Linked DNA regions of Homo sapiens: region 2 is linked to region 1. Evidence: promoter capture Hi-C in human tissues and cell types (Jung and others, 2019). All regions are on one chromosome and are shown on one strand. The core of a region is centred on a gene start or on the middle of the fragment in contact, and the rest is flanking DNA. Distances in the headings are between cores, read along the strand shown. Region 1 holds the start of GAPVD1 (GTPase activating protein and VPS9 domains 1). Region 2 overlaps NR6A1 (nuclear receptor subfamily 6 group A member 1).

Region 1 (7,163 bases), core at 2,435-4,934:
GAACCCGGGAGGCAGAGGTTTCAGTGAGCCAAGATTACACCACTGCACTCCAGCCTGGGAGACAAGTAAGACTCCCTCTCAGAAAGAAGAACAGAAAAAGAAACAATGCCAGGTGTGGTGGTGCCGACCTATAGTCCTAGCTACTTGGTAAGGCTGAGGCAGGAGGATCACTCAAGTCCAGGAGTTCAAGTCCAGCCTGGGCAATGCAGCAAGACCTTGTTTCAAAAAAAAAGAAGGAAGAAGAAAGAAGGAAGAAGAATGAAGAGAAATAAAACAACCTAGGATCACACAGTAAAAGGTAAAAGAACCTCAGCAAAACAAGAACTTCACTTACAGACTTTCCCTTTTATTACCTCATACAAAATGATGAATAATCAAACCTATATGGCAGCATGTACTAAGAATGATTAGTCCCCATATGAAACCAAATGCTCACAAAAGCACAACATAGTGCTGGGAAATAATTTTTTGTCTTTTAAAAAATGTAAGATGGCCAGGCGCGGTGGCTCACGCCAATAATCCTAGCACTCTGGGGGGCCAAGGCGGGCAGATCACTTAAGGTCAGGAGGTTCGAGGCCAGCCTGACCAACATGGTGAAACCCCGTTTCTACTAAAAATACAAAAATTAGCCAGGCATGGTGGCAGCACCTGTAGTCCCAGCTACCTGGGAGGCTGAGGCAGGAGAATGGCATGAACCCGGTAGGCAGAGCTTGCAGTGAGCTGAGATCGCGCCACTGCACTCCAGCCTGGGCGACAGCCTGAGACTCCATCTCAGAAAAAAAAAAAAAAAATCCACCTCCATGATTTAAAGAAAACCAGCAAACAGTAAAATTTCTTTTCTCAGGCTTACATTAGAGCTTACAGAGCTGCAATCCCTTGGAAGTGGGGAGGTGCCTTAATACAAAAATTTAAAGGCCAACATATTCACTTTTCTTTCTTCTTCCGATTATTTTGTTCATTCCCCATTACCCTGAATGAAATATCTATGGTCTATTCTTTCAAAATGACTACTCTGGGCAGGACGCGGTGGCTCACATCAGTAATCCCAGCACTTTGGGAGTCCGAGGCAGGCAGATCACCTGAGGTCAGGACTTTGAGACCAGCCTGACCAACATGGTGAAACCTTGCCTCTACTAAAAATATAAAAATTATCCAGGCGTGGTGGCTGGTGTCTGTAGTCCCAGCTACTCAGGAAGCTGAGGCACAAGAATCGCTTGAACCCAGGAAGCTGAGGTCGCAGTGAGCGGAGATCATGCCACTGCACTCCAGCCTAGGCAACAGAGCCAGACTCCGTCTCAAAACAAAACAAAACAAAAGACTACCCTGATCCCATCCAAATTTTTTATCTCCCTGATTATGAAATTCTCTTTCGTCTACACTGTCATCCTGTCTGCCTTCAATGATTCAAATGTTCTTCTAAAGAACCAGATTGCCATTTATGAACTCCTTTTTAAGGAGGGAGTCATGGTGGCCAAGAAGGATGTCCACATGCCTAAGCACCCAGAGCTGGCAGACAAGAACGTGCCCAACCTTCATGTCATGAAGGCCATGCAGTCTCTCAAGTCTCAAGGCTACATGAAGGAACAGTTTGCCTGGAGACATTTCTACTGGTACCTTACCAATGAGGGTATCCAGTATCTCCGGGATTACCTTCATCTGCCCCCCGGAGACTGTACCTGCTACCCTACGCCATAGCTGTCCAGAGACCGGCAGGCCTCAGCCTAAAGGTCTGGAGGGTGAGTGACCTGCGAGACTCACAAGAGGGGAAGCTGACAGACATACCTACAGATGGAGTGCTGACAGACATACCTACAGATGGAGTGCTGTGCCACTTAGTGCCGACAAGAAAGCTGAGGCTGGGGCTGGGTCAGCAGCCAAATTCCAGTTGAGACGGATTTGGTCGTGGACGTGGTCAGCCACCTCAGTAAAATTGGAGAGGATTCTTTTGCATTGAATAAACTTACAACCAAAAAAAAAAAAACAACAGTTCTTCTAAGTAGACTTATAAATCCAAAAAACCTTATTTCTATTTCAGGAGTTTTTTTGTTTTGTTTTGTTTTTTGAGACGGAGTCTCGCTCTGTTGCCAGGCTGGAGTGCAGTGGCGTGATCTTGGCTCACTGCAATATCCACCTCCCGGGCTCAAGTGATTCTCTTGCCTCAGCCTCCCAAGTAGCTGGGATTACAGGCATGGGCCACCACACCCAACTAATTTTTGTATTTTTAGTAGAGATGGGGTTTCACCATGTTGGCCAGGATGGTCTCGATCTCTTGACCTCAATGATCCGCCCGCCTCGGCCTCCCAAATTATTTCAGGAGTTCTTAATCTTTTTGTGCACGGACCTCATTGGCAGTTTGGTGAAGCCTATGGTCCCTTTCTCAGATTTCTTTTAAGTGCATAATTAAATACATGTGATTACAAGGGAAACCAATTATATGGAAATATTAGCAAAACAACAAACTAATATGGTCATAATATATGTACAGCCTTATTATCACATTAAATAACAATGTCTAACGGCGGGTCTAGTAACACCAGAAATTCAAAGAAGTGTTAACCATAAATGATATTCTGAGCTATCTGCAACTGTAAACATGATGCAAAAATATCCGTAATTTTTATTGATCACAAAGTCATAGGCGCTGCTAATGCTACTCTGGCTTGTTGTCCACATTCGTAACTGAAGGAAATAATAAGTTTCAGTTAGCAGTCAATAAAAATAATGATGTCATTTTATCCTCCTTCTAGTGAAAGGACCCTTCTAATTCTATCCATCAATGAACTCCAGTTTAAAACCCCTCTCTAGTTCAAAGTCCTGCTCAGAACTGATTTTCGTCATAAATTTAAAAATAAAAACACTGATTCCTCCTTTGACCTAGTTCTCATCTGAACCTATCACTATGTCTCCCTGTTTTTATGCACATTTATACACAGAACCCTGGGTGTACTTCTGTGGTTTGCCTAGCCAGCACTCACTACAATTTTGCCAGTCAATAAAAGGTGAAGTTAAAAGAAAAGGGATGGAAACAACCAACAGCTCCCTCACTTTCAGACCTCCGACAGCAAGTGGAAAGATGCCAAGTACAGTGAGTGTCTGTGTTAGGTGGGCTGCCCCCAGACCCGTGTGTCCAGCTTGTCAAGCTTCCCTGCAGCACGATATCTTTATCAGCGACACTCAGAAGACATTCCATTTCGTTCTCGCCTCCTATACTCAGTTCCCTACCTGCCGGGCCTCTCGTCTCTGGCCCCCACCCGAGGCCGCCCCGCGGTCCTCCTGTCCCTTCCCATCCCATCCCCCACGCGTCTCTCCCTCTCCTCAGCCCCAGGCCGCCCTGGCTCCTGCGCGCCGCCACATCTCTCCCCTGGGTCTAACCCAGTGTCCCCCGACCCCCACCTCGCCCGACACTGACGGGAAGAGCCCAGGACCCCGGGGTCAGTTGGACCTGACGGCCGGGCAGTCAGAGACAGGCTGCGGCCCTAGGCCGGAGCAACCCGGCCGCGAGGCAGGGAGCCGCTCACAGCCCGCGGACTAAATCGGGACGCGTACTCACCAAGGGGGTCATGCGGGGGAGGACACGGAGGACTCTGTCGGACCGCCACTCGGCCTCGGAGCCGTCGCCCTAGCCGGTGACTGCCCCCGCCGCCGCTGCCGCCACCTTCGCCACTCGCCTGTTGGCTTCCCTGCGTCCTGCAGCGGCGCTGCCGCCACGCCAGCGCGCGTGCGCAGCGCCGCGGGGGCCTCTGGGAGCTGTAGTTCCGCCCGGGCGGCTAGGGGCTCCCACTTCCGCCTTAGGCAGCCCTAGGTCAGCTGCCCCCTGAGGCTGTCGTGGGTGTCCGGGTCCGGAATCGTCTTCCGGAAGGCTGTTCACCAGGCCTGGGCCCTGGTTTCCGCCTGCAGTAATGCTGGACGTGAAGAATCCGACTGAGCAAGTATGTGTAAAGCAAAAATGTAGAGCGTTTTATGCTTTCTGTGACAACGCTCAGTTGCCCAGGACACATTATTCGCATGAATGACTCTCTCTCTTCTCTGTTTCTCTCTCACACGTACGCACACACTACTTACAAACCTCCCTTCCCTTTTTTTTTTTTTTTCGAGACGGAGTCTGGCTCTGTCGCCCAGGCTGGAGTGCAGTGGCTCAATCTCGGCTCACTGCAAGCTCCGCCTCCCGGGTTCACGCCATTCTCCCGCCTCAGCCTCCCAAGTAGCTGGAACTACAAGCGCCCGCCACCACGCCCGGCTAATTTTTTGATTTTTAGTAGAGACGAGGTTTCACCGTGTTAGCCAGGATGGTCTCGATCTCCTGACCTCGTGATCCGCCCGCCTCGGCCTCCCAAAGTGCTGGGATTACAGGCGTGAGCCACCGCTGCCGGCCCCTCCCTTCCCTTTTGTTCTAAGTGCCATTAATTGGTTTGGATGGTATCTGGATTTTCAGTGTAAAACCTGCCTTCCCACTTCTCAGTTTCTAAAATCTTGCTTATCATAAACTTCACCATGCAGTTATTTTAGGTAAGTCAATAAATGAACTGTCTAATAATTTTTGTAACACCATAACTCATATATTCAGAGGTCAAGTTAGCTGAGTTGAACAGTCTAGAAACCTTAAAATTGGAAGATACCTGCTTAAAGGTCACTAGTGCAACTGTTGCCCAGGCAGGAATTCCCTCCTGTACATTCAGCCAGATGGTCATCTTCCTGTTCAACAGTTCAAATTTCAGGGAGCTCACTCCCTCAAGTAATGCAGCCTGCTCCACTGTTGGACAGCTCTAAATGTTAGAAAGTTCTGCCTCCTGCTGAGCTGAAATCTGTTTCCCTTTATTTCCTTCCATTGCTGGTAGTTAGGCTGCCTGGAGCAATACAGAATGTCTTCCACTTGACAGATCTTCAAAAAATTGAGAACAATGATTATATCCTCCAATACTGGGAGTCTCCAGGCAAAAAAAGGAAAAAAGTAATAATCATTTCCCCAGCTATTTCAAATGTCAATCAACTCCCAAACTGCTTTCTATCTACTCACCTCTCTTGATGTCACCTTTAGGGGCATGGTGGCATATGCCTATAATCCTAGCACTTTGCGAGGCCAAGGCAGGAGGATTGCTTGAGCCCAGAAGTTCAAGACCAGCCTGAGCAACATAGTGAAACCCCAACTCTACAAAAAATACAAAAATCAGCGAGGCATGGTGGCTTGCACCTGTAGTCCCAGCTACTAGGGAGGCTGAAGTGGGAGGATCACCAAGCCCAAAAAGGTCAAGGCTGCAGTGAGCTGTGATCATGCCACTGAACTCCATCCTGGGCAGCAGAGTGAAACCTGTCTCAAAACAAAACAGCAACAACAACATTGACAGAATTGCTTCATATTTATTGCCTTGTTTTATGACTACATAGGTAGTAATAGAACCACCTATGGTAGGCTGGTCAGATGTTATTGCTATCGTGCTGCCATTCAACTCATTCAGGAATTCAATCAGCTCTGTTACAAGACATTACTCAATGCACCGCTGGCATGAAATAAGCAAGAGGAGGCCGGGCGCAGTGGCTCACGCCTGTAATCCCAGCACTTTGGGAGGCCGAGGTGGGCGGATCATGAGGTCAGGAGATCGAGACCATCCTGGCTAACACGGTAGAAACCTGTCTCTACTAAAAATACAAAAAATTAGCCGGGCATGGTGGCAGGCGCCTGTAGTCCCAGCTACACGGGAGGCTGAGGCAGGAGAATGGCGTGAACCCGGGAGACGGAGCTTGCAGTGAGTGGAGATCGTGCCACTGCACTCCAGCCTGGGCGACAGAGCGAGACTCTGTCTCAAGAAAAAAAAAAAAAGAAAAGAAATAAGCAAGAGGATACAATTTACAATCTAGGGTAGGATGAAACTGCCACAGATTAAGGATCATCATAATAAGCCAAGGTACAAAGCATTCTGAGATTCTCAGAGAGAATGGCCTTTTCAAGTTGAGGGTTCATGACCTTATGGAAGAGGTGACAGTTAGGAGTTACTGGATGGCTGGATTTCAAGACAAGAGATGGCATTCGTGGACTGCTAAGGAAGAACTCAGCCTTAGCAAAACCACATTCACAGTGGGCTCTGGAACACTGCGTCTGGGTAGGCTGGAGCACCCAGGCCAGGGAGGAAGGGAAGGAGAGGCCCCAAAAGTTGCAAAAGAATCTTCAGGGAAGCTGCATTGCATGTGAGAAGTAAAAAAGGAACTAGAATGGTCAGTTAATCTTCTGAGCCCTGTTCTGTCACCTACAAATGAAGAACTTGAACTAACAAGCAATTTTCTTTTTTTTTTCCAGTCAGCACACTCAAGGAATTCAAATCTCCTGCTAGAACTATGGATCACTACAACAGTGATTCTTGGGAAATATGGAATAGGTATTATTTTCATCCCTTTTACAAATGGGAAAGTAAACTCAAGAGGTGAAAATTTGCTCAAAATCAATAAGTAGTACTCACTGAGGGCAGATCACTGTCTCCCTAGAACCTGGCATACTGCCTAGAATGTAATGTTTGTTTTTTGTTTTTTAAATGAATGGATGAATACACAGTAAACTCTGTCCAAAGCCCCTTTCTTTCCATACACAACTCAGTCTTCCCTGACATAGAAGGATATGAAGTTACTTGTTCATGGTCACAAAATTCATACTGGACCTTGTGTAGAGTTTAGTTCTTCAGCCTCCCAACTCCATACTCTATTAAACTACTCTGCCTTAGAATCGCAAAACATTTTTTTTAATGTTCTTTTTCCTTCTATGTGTACACAGCCAGTCTTAGAAGTAAGCCAAGAAAGCAGATGCTATGGCCAAGTGATTTAAGGGGCCTCTGGCAAGTATTTCTGGACAAAAAAACACTTTATCCCCAGGTCCCTCAAAGGCCCCCAAACTTCATCACTTATATTGAATCACAAATGTTAACTTGAGGTGAAAATTTAAACCAACACATAGTCCCTGAGGGCGCAGACTCCATCTTATTCACCACTGGGCGTACTGCCTAGAATGTAATAATTTGTCTACATTTTTATTTTAGAAATAGGTCTTGCTATGTTGCCCAGGCTAGAATGCAGTAACTATTCACAGGTGCTATCGTGAGGGCTCAAGGGATCCTCATGCCTCAGCTTCCTGAGTACCTGGGACCACAGGCTTGCACCGCTGTGCTGGGCTCGCCTGTTTG
Region 2 (7,163 bases), core at 1,257-3,756, 610 kb after region 1:
ACTTTAAAACCATCAGCTTTTGCAGGGAGTTATAGAGCCAGCACTCACTGACTACTGCAAGAATGGCACCAAGACATTCATGAGGGATCTGCCTTCATGACCCAGACACCTCCCACCAGGCCCCACCACCAACATAAGGGGTTAGATTTCAGCATGAGACTCAATGAGGGGGGAGCAAACAAATTACATCCAAACTGTAGCAACCACATTTTGTTTATCCATTCATCTGTCAATGGACACTTAAGTAGCTTCCACTTTTTTGCTATCAAGACAGTTTTTCTTGACTATTCTTAAAATCATGTGAGGGCTTCTTTACAGAGCTGTTCTGACCCATCTCAGAAGCTCTTTTCACTTTATAAGTTGTAAGGGTTTTGATGGGCCTTTTAACTCTAGAGACCAGCTAGTCCCTAACATCAGGTTTGCTAGAGAAGGGAAGATTCTTTCCAGCCTTCCTGGATGACACCTAATACATACTATATTCCTAGTAATTCTGTTATACTTAAGATTTATGGGTTCATCTTTCCTGTTACACTGTGAGCCCTTCCTGGGCTGGGACGATGGCCAGTTTCTCTTGAGTTGTGCCTTGTGCCTCTGTATAGGCACAGGGCCTATTATGAAGTAGATATCAATAAATATTAGTTGGAAAAAATGTGAATTAGTAAATAATAATTTGTATTGGGTTTTTATGTGCCAGATGTTTTGAATACATTTAGCTAATTTAATCTTCAAAACAGTCCTTTCAGATACATATTGTTATCTTCATTTAATAGATGAGGGAACTTGTCAAAGGCCTCAGAGATGTAAAATGTATAACTGGGATTTGAACCTTTGTTCAAATTGCTTGTTCTCGCTTGACTCAAGAGCCATTATGTTAGAGGCAGACTTCATAGTCAGTTGATGATCAGTGGGTTTGGAAACATGAAATTTAGCTCAGGCATCGGCTCCAAATTAAATACTCTTTCATTGGGCATTAGGAACTATACCCTTCTGATATGGCTCATGAATGGATGCTCAGAGGAAAGCTTGGCTCGTTAGTTACTTGGACCTTTTATAGGGACTTTAGCTGAACAACTAATTGCTGAACTCAGTTGGCAAAGGCTCTTCTGTGGGTAAATCCTCTTTCACATGTTATTTTGAAAGTGCAGTTAAATTCTAACATACATGATGTGGCCCTGGAATGGATGCATCAGTTTTCTTTATTCTGTTTGTTTGGCAGGTGTGTGTGTGTGTGTGTGTGTGTGTGTGTGTGTGTGTACAAAAAAAAAAAATGTATGTATAAAAGCAACCAGTATCTAGGTATCAGGAACAAAACAAAGGTTTTTATGGAGCTTACATTCTAATGGGGAGACAGAAAAATGAATTCTCAAAGTACTATGAAGTGAAACATGAAGCTACACTGTGAAGAAAATAGGGTAGTGTGGTGATGGAGAATGACTGACTGGTGGGATGTGGTGGATTGGGAGACATCTTGAATGAGGAAGTATCGGGCTATGCCTCTCTGAGGAACCAAAGTATGCAAGCTGAGAGCCAAGTCATGACATGAAGAACCTCAGCCTACAAAGAGCCAGAAGAATGAACTGGGTAGTGGCAACAAGAAATGCAAGAGCTCTCATGTGGGATTGAGCTTAGTGTGCTTGAGGAGCCAAAAGGGTAGTATGGCTAAAATGGAGTGAATGCAAGTAGGGGTGATGTTGGAGAGGTGGGATGGGGCCCTATCACATAGGACCTTGTAAGCTATAGTAAGAAATTTGGGTTTTTTCCAAGTGTATTTTTTCCCAAATTTGTTTTTTTCCCCCCAAATAGTAGGACATTGGAAGGTTTTAAGCAGAATGGTAACTTGTTCTGCAGGCCGAAGAAGTCCTTGTGTGCAGTTCTTGTCTATGTTTAGTCCTCTGAGGCCCCCTTGACACTATCTTTAACTGGGGTTCCTCCCAAGCTGAGAATCTTGCCAAGGTTCTCACATGTCAGTGGCCACCTTTGAGTGTCCTAGAAGAATCATATTTCTTTTATAACCATTTTGGGGCTAACATTGGTTTCATTGCCCTTTCCACAACAGAGAGGGTTTGTTCAACGAGAGCTTCTTCCAGCATTTTCATACATCACTGTTGCCTGGGTAGGGTTTTGCAGCCTGATTCTCTGTATTAATTTAGGATAAAATTCAGTTATTAATTAGACCTGATCTTTCTTTGTCAATAATTTAGAAGCATATGTCCTCGGCACATAATGTTGGCTGACTGTTTGGTTAATAATATGTTCTTGAAGACATACTTCTGGAAATCTGAAATTGATAAGTGAAGAGGAACTTTCTTACTATTCATAAATAAGGTTGTATTCAGCTATTCTGACTCTAGTAGGGTTAATTGCTAACATTTGACCTACATTATTTTATTTTTTCAATTTCTCAAAAACTCTGAAAAGTATAGGCCAGGGGCCTTGGCTCATGCCTGTAATGCCAGTGCTTTGGGACGCCATGGTGGAAGGATTGCTTGAGGCCAGGAGTTCGAGACCAGCCTTAGCAACATAGTAAGACCCCCATATCTACAAAAAATAAATTTGCCTGGCTTGATGATATGTGCCTGTAGTTCTAGTTACTTGTGAGGGTGAGGAGAGAGGGTCACTTGAGTGCAGGAGTTCAAGGCTGCAGTGAGCTATGATGATGCCACCATACTCCAGGATGGTGACAGAGACTCTGTCTCTTAAAAAACAACAACAAAACAAACCTCTGACAAATACAGAAAATAACAGCATACACCTGATAGTCCCATTTTATAGGCAAGTGACATCTAGTATTTTCATAGTAAAATATCATGTAGTGTCATCTGATACTTTCTTCTTTTTACTAAAAAAAAAAAAAAGTTACTTGCAAGCTACTCAGTTGATTTCACAGCTTACTGAAGGGGCAGCCAGAACTTTGGAAAGCACAAAAGGTGAGAAAACTGAGGCTCTGGTGGTTAAATGACTTGTCCAGTGTCACATAGCAAGGAAGAGGCAGAGCTGAGACTTGAACCAGAGCTTGATTCCAAAGTTCTTGCTCGTACTATGTTATATAGATTCTCTATTAATGAAACTGAAGGGAAAAAAAAGCACAAATAACCTTTAATAATGATTATACAAAATGTAAATTTCCCAAAGCAGAGGCTGTAGGAAGGGGCAGAAATATTCTTCCTCTGATCATTGCCTCAGCATTTTTCAGAGTTGTTGGCCATCTGGAGTTGTTGGTCCCTCTCTGGGGCAGAATACAACTGACGCTACTCATTAGTTATGCTGGGAATGGACAGATTCCCAGAGCACTTACATCTCATTACTCACCTAGCCTTGAGCTAATCTTGGCTTTTTAAAGTAATAGCTGGGTGTGAGACCTAGCTTCTGCGTGAGTGTGTGGCCTCTCAAAAGTGTGCTGTTGCAATGTGACTTGGAGTTCATGCTCAGATATGGGAAGGGCTGTATCTAGAGTCTGGCTCCAGCCCTGGCATTTCTGACCTGGTCATGGTACTGAGTTAATTTTATGGAAAGAAGGAATGATGTCCCTTTTTCTTCTTGGAGGATAAGGCTGTGTCAAAGGGAAAGGAAGGAAATTAATTCCCGTTGTTGTCTGCTATGAGCCATGCACTGTACTAGGCACATTTGACATTGGTTTTTGAATTAATTCTCATAACAGTGCTGTCAGGGGAACAGTATTATCCTCATTTTGCAGAGAAGTAATATTGAGGCTCAGAGAGAGGAAATGATTCATAAGCAGTCACACAGCCAGGTAGTAATGAGATTAGGAGAGAAACTTCATTACACCTTAATTTTAAAAGTCATACCCTTCTCCTTAGAGCTGGGTTGTAACCCCAAGCTGATAAGACAGTTGAGGAGGGGACATTCCTAGGCCTTGGAAATAATAGGTTATATCAGAGGAAGCCCATGAAAATCCAACAGTGTGGAAATAGAGCTGCTTCTTTACTCTTGTGCATTGAGGGATTTGCCTGGAATACCTACCTCCACCACTTTAAATCAATCCAGACTTAGGGGTTGGGGCTAGTTTTTTAGTCTTCATGCAGTCGCTTTTCAATAAAAAACAGGAGGTTAGTCTTCTGCTGGTTTCCTTTTTTAACTAGCTCAGATTTGTTTGTTTTTTTCCTTTATTCTGCCGTTACTTGGACATCGTTTTCTTCTCCTTTGGACTTAAATTAGATTGGCTGTCAAGCTTTTGGGCCTCTTTGTTTCTTGGGAGAGGCAGAAATGGTCAGGTGCCAATGTCTACTTGGGAAGAGGATCAAATTGTGTGGGTAGGATTGGGGTGGAGGCACAGATCTTAAACTATTACTCTATGGCTGCCAGGAAAATGCATATTTTCTTTGCAAAAGAGACTAGTCCGGTGTTAATGCTTTGATTGTATAATTAAAGCCATGGATTTTGGATAATTTCTTTAGATATGTAATGAGGCCTATTTTAGTGTAAACCGTATATATAGTAGAACTTCGTATTTTTACTTTGTATTTTTGTCCCCAGTTTTATCATCTGGGCAAAGATGGCAAAGTAGATTGGGCAAAAAGAAAGGGAGAAGGGAACCACTGTGGGGCCAACCCCTATGGTAGGTACTTTGTAAAATTGTTACTTTGAATTCTTACAGCATTCTTATTAAGTTGGTATTGTCATTTCCTCTTCCATAAGTATTTGGAAATTGAGATGTGACATGGTTAACTAACTTCTCCAAGGTTCATAAGACAAAGCCAGTAATCAAATTCAATTTTTGGCTGAGATAAAAGATTAGTAAGACAGAGCCAGTGGCTGGGCGCAGTGGCTCATGCCTGTAATTCCAGCACTTTGGGAGGCCGAGGTGGACGGATCACTTGAGCCCAGCAGTTTGAGACCAGCCTGGGCGACGTGGCAAAACCCCATCTCTAAAAAAAAAATACAAAAATTAACCAGGCATAGTGGCACACACTTGTAGTCCTAGCTACTTGGGAGGCTGAGGCAGGGGGATCACTTGTGCCTGGGAAGCTGGAGGTTGCAGTGAGCTGAGATGGAACCACTGCACTCCAGTGTGGGCAGCAGAGTGAGACTCTGTCTCAAAAAGAAAAACAAAAAGAGCTAGTAACCCAATTCAGATTGTTGTTTGCTTGTTTTTTGGTCTCCAAAGTCCTTTCTTTCTATTACCTATTTATAGTCTTCACTAAAGCATTGCCAGTGCCTTTTGGGGGCATTGCCAGGGTTTGGAGAGTGGTGGTGGTGATTATACCCCTTAGGACAGACTTTTTTCTAAAGTGACAGACTATTCCTGAATGTTTCAAGTTTAAAAAGAGATGGTAGAGAATTGGTATAATTTCTTCCTTAAGTGTTTACTAGAATTCACCAGTGAGCCCATCTGGGCCTACTGCTTTCTGTTTTGGAAAGTTATTTGTTGTTGTTGTTACTTCAATTGATATATAATTGTATATATTTATAGGGTACATGTGATATTTTGATACATGCATACAATGTGTAATGATCAAATTGGGGTAATAGGGAAATCACCTACAACATTTATCAGCTGTTTGTCTTGGAACATTCCAAATACTCTCTTCTATCCATTTTGAAATATGCGGTAAATTGTTGTGAACCACAGTTGCCCTACTGTGCTATCAAATACTAGAACTTATTCCTTCTCTCTAACTGTATTTTTGTACCTATTAACCAACCTCTCTTCATCCCCCACTGTCCCTCTACCCTTCCCAGCCTCTGGTGATCACCATTCTATTCATTACTTCCATGAGATCAGTTGTTTTTTTTTAAGCTCCCATGTATGAGTGGGAACATGTGATATTTGTCTTTCGGTGCCCAGCTTATTCACTTAACAGTTCCATCCATGTTGCTGCAAATGATGGGATTTTATTCTTTTTTATGGCTGAATAATACTCCATTGTGTACTTATGCACATTTTATTTATCCGCTCATTTGGTGATGGACCCTTAGGTTGATTTCATGTCTGATATCTTGGCTGTTGTGAATAGTGGTGCAATAAACATGAGAGTGCAGATATCTCTTTGATATACGGATTTCCTTTCTTTTGGAAATATAGCCAGCAGTAGGATTGCTGGATCATATGGTAGTTCTATTTTTAGTTATTTGAGGAACTTCCATACTGTTTTCCATAATGGGTGAACTAATTTACATTCCCATCAACAGTGTAGAAGTGTTCCCCTTTTCTCTGCATCCTCACCAGCACCAGTCTTTTTTATAATAGCCATTTTAATGGGGTGAGATAATATCTTGTAGTTTTGATTTTTATTCCTTCAATGATTAATGATGTTGAGTATTTTTAAAAATATATCTGTTAGCCATTTGTGTGTCTGCTTTTGAGAAATGTCTCTTCATCTTTTTTTCCCATTTTAAAATTGGATTATTTGGAGCTTTTTGCTATTGAGTTCCGTGTATATTTAGTTATTCATCTCTTGTCAGTGGGATAATTTGCAAATATTTTCTCCCATTCTTTAGGTTATCTCTTTATTTTGTCGGTTGTTTTCTTTGCTATGCAGAAGCTTTTTAGCTTGATATAACCCCATTTGTCAATTTCTGCTTTTGTTGCCTGTGCTTTTGAGGTCTAACTCAAAGAATCTTTGCCAGACCCGTGTCCTGAAGCATTTCCCCAGTGTTTTCTTGTAGTAGTAGTGTAGTCTCAGGTCTTACATATAAGTCTTCAACCCATTTTGATTTGATTTTTTTATGTAGTAAGAGAACAGGATCTAGTTTCTTTCTTCTGCATATGGACATCTCGCTTTCCCAGTGCCATTTATTGGAGTGACTGTCCTTTTGCCAATGAATGTTCTTGATGCCTTTATTGAAAATGATTTGACTGTAAATGTGTGGATTTATTCTGGGTTCTCTATTCTGTTCCATCGGTCTATGTGTCTTTTTTTTTTTTTTTTTTTTTTGTGCCAGTACCACACTTTCTTACTATAGCTTTGGTAGTATATTTTGAAGTCAGGTAGTGTGATACCTCCACCTGTGTTCTTTTAGTTCAGGATTGCTTTGGCTATTTGGGGTCTTTTGAGGTTTCATATGAATTTTAGGATTTTTCTATTTCTGCGAAGAATGTCATTGGTATTTTGATAGGAATTGCATTTTATCTGTAGATCTCTTTGGATAGTGTGGATATTTTAACAATATCCTTTCACTTTATGAACATGGGATGTCTTTCC

Evidence for each region. Contacts are between HindIII fragments. The study calls those that stand out against the background at their distance.
Region 2: a fragment that was not itself captured here is called in contact with the fragment with the promoter of GAPVD1 in region 1 in 1 of the 25 tissues and cell types used here (lymphoblastoid cells).

Annotation. Positions count from the first base shown.
Region 1 is chr9:125,258,347-125,265,509 of GRCh38, reverse strand. GAPVD1 (GTPase activating protein and VPS9 domains 1) reads right to left here and starts at 3,684. Exons shown (of 28, transcript NM_001282680.3): 1 at 3,551-3,684. It also overlaps the pseudogene RPS10P17. RefSeq lists silencers at 3,538-3,667, 3,606-3,787, 7,111-7,163. The HindIII fragment of the contact is 6,614 bases long and covers 417-7,030 here.
Region 2 is chr9:124,648,967-124,656,129 of GRCh38, reverse strand. The region is part of intron 2 of NR6A1 (nuclear receptor subfamily 6 group A member 1); the gene reads left to right. Among named protein-coding and RNA genes, the nearest start is that of MIR181A2HG, 5.9 kb to the left of the region's middle. The HindIII fragment of the contact is 5,680 bases long and covers 1-5,346 here.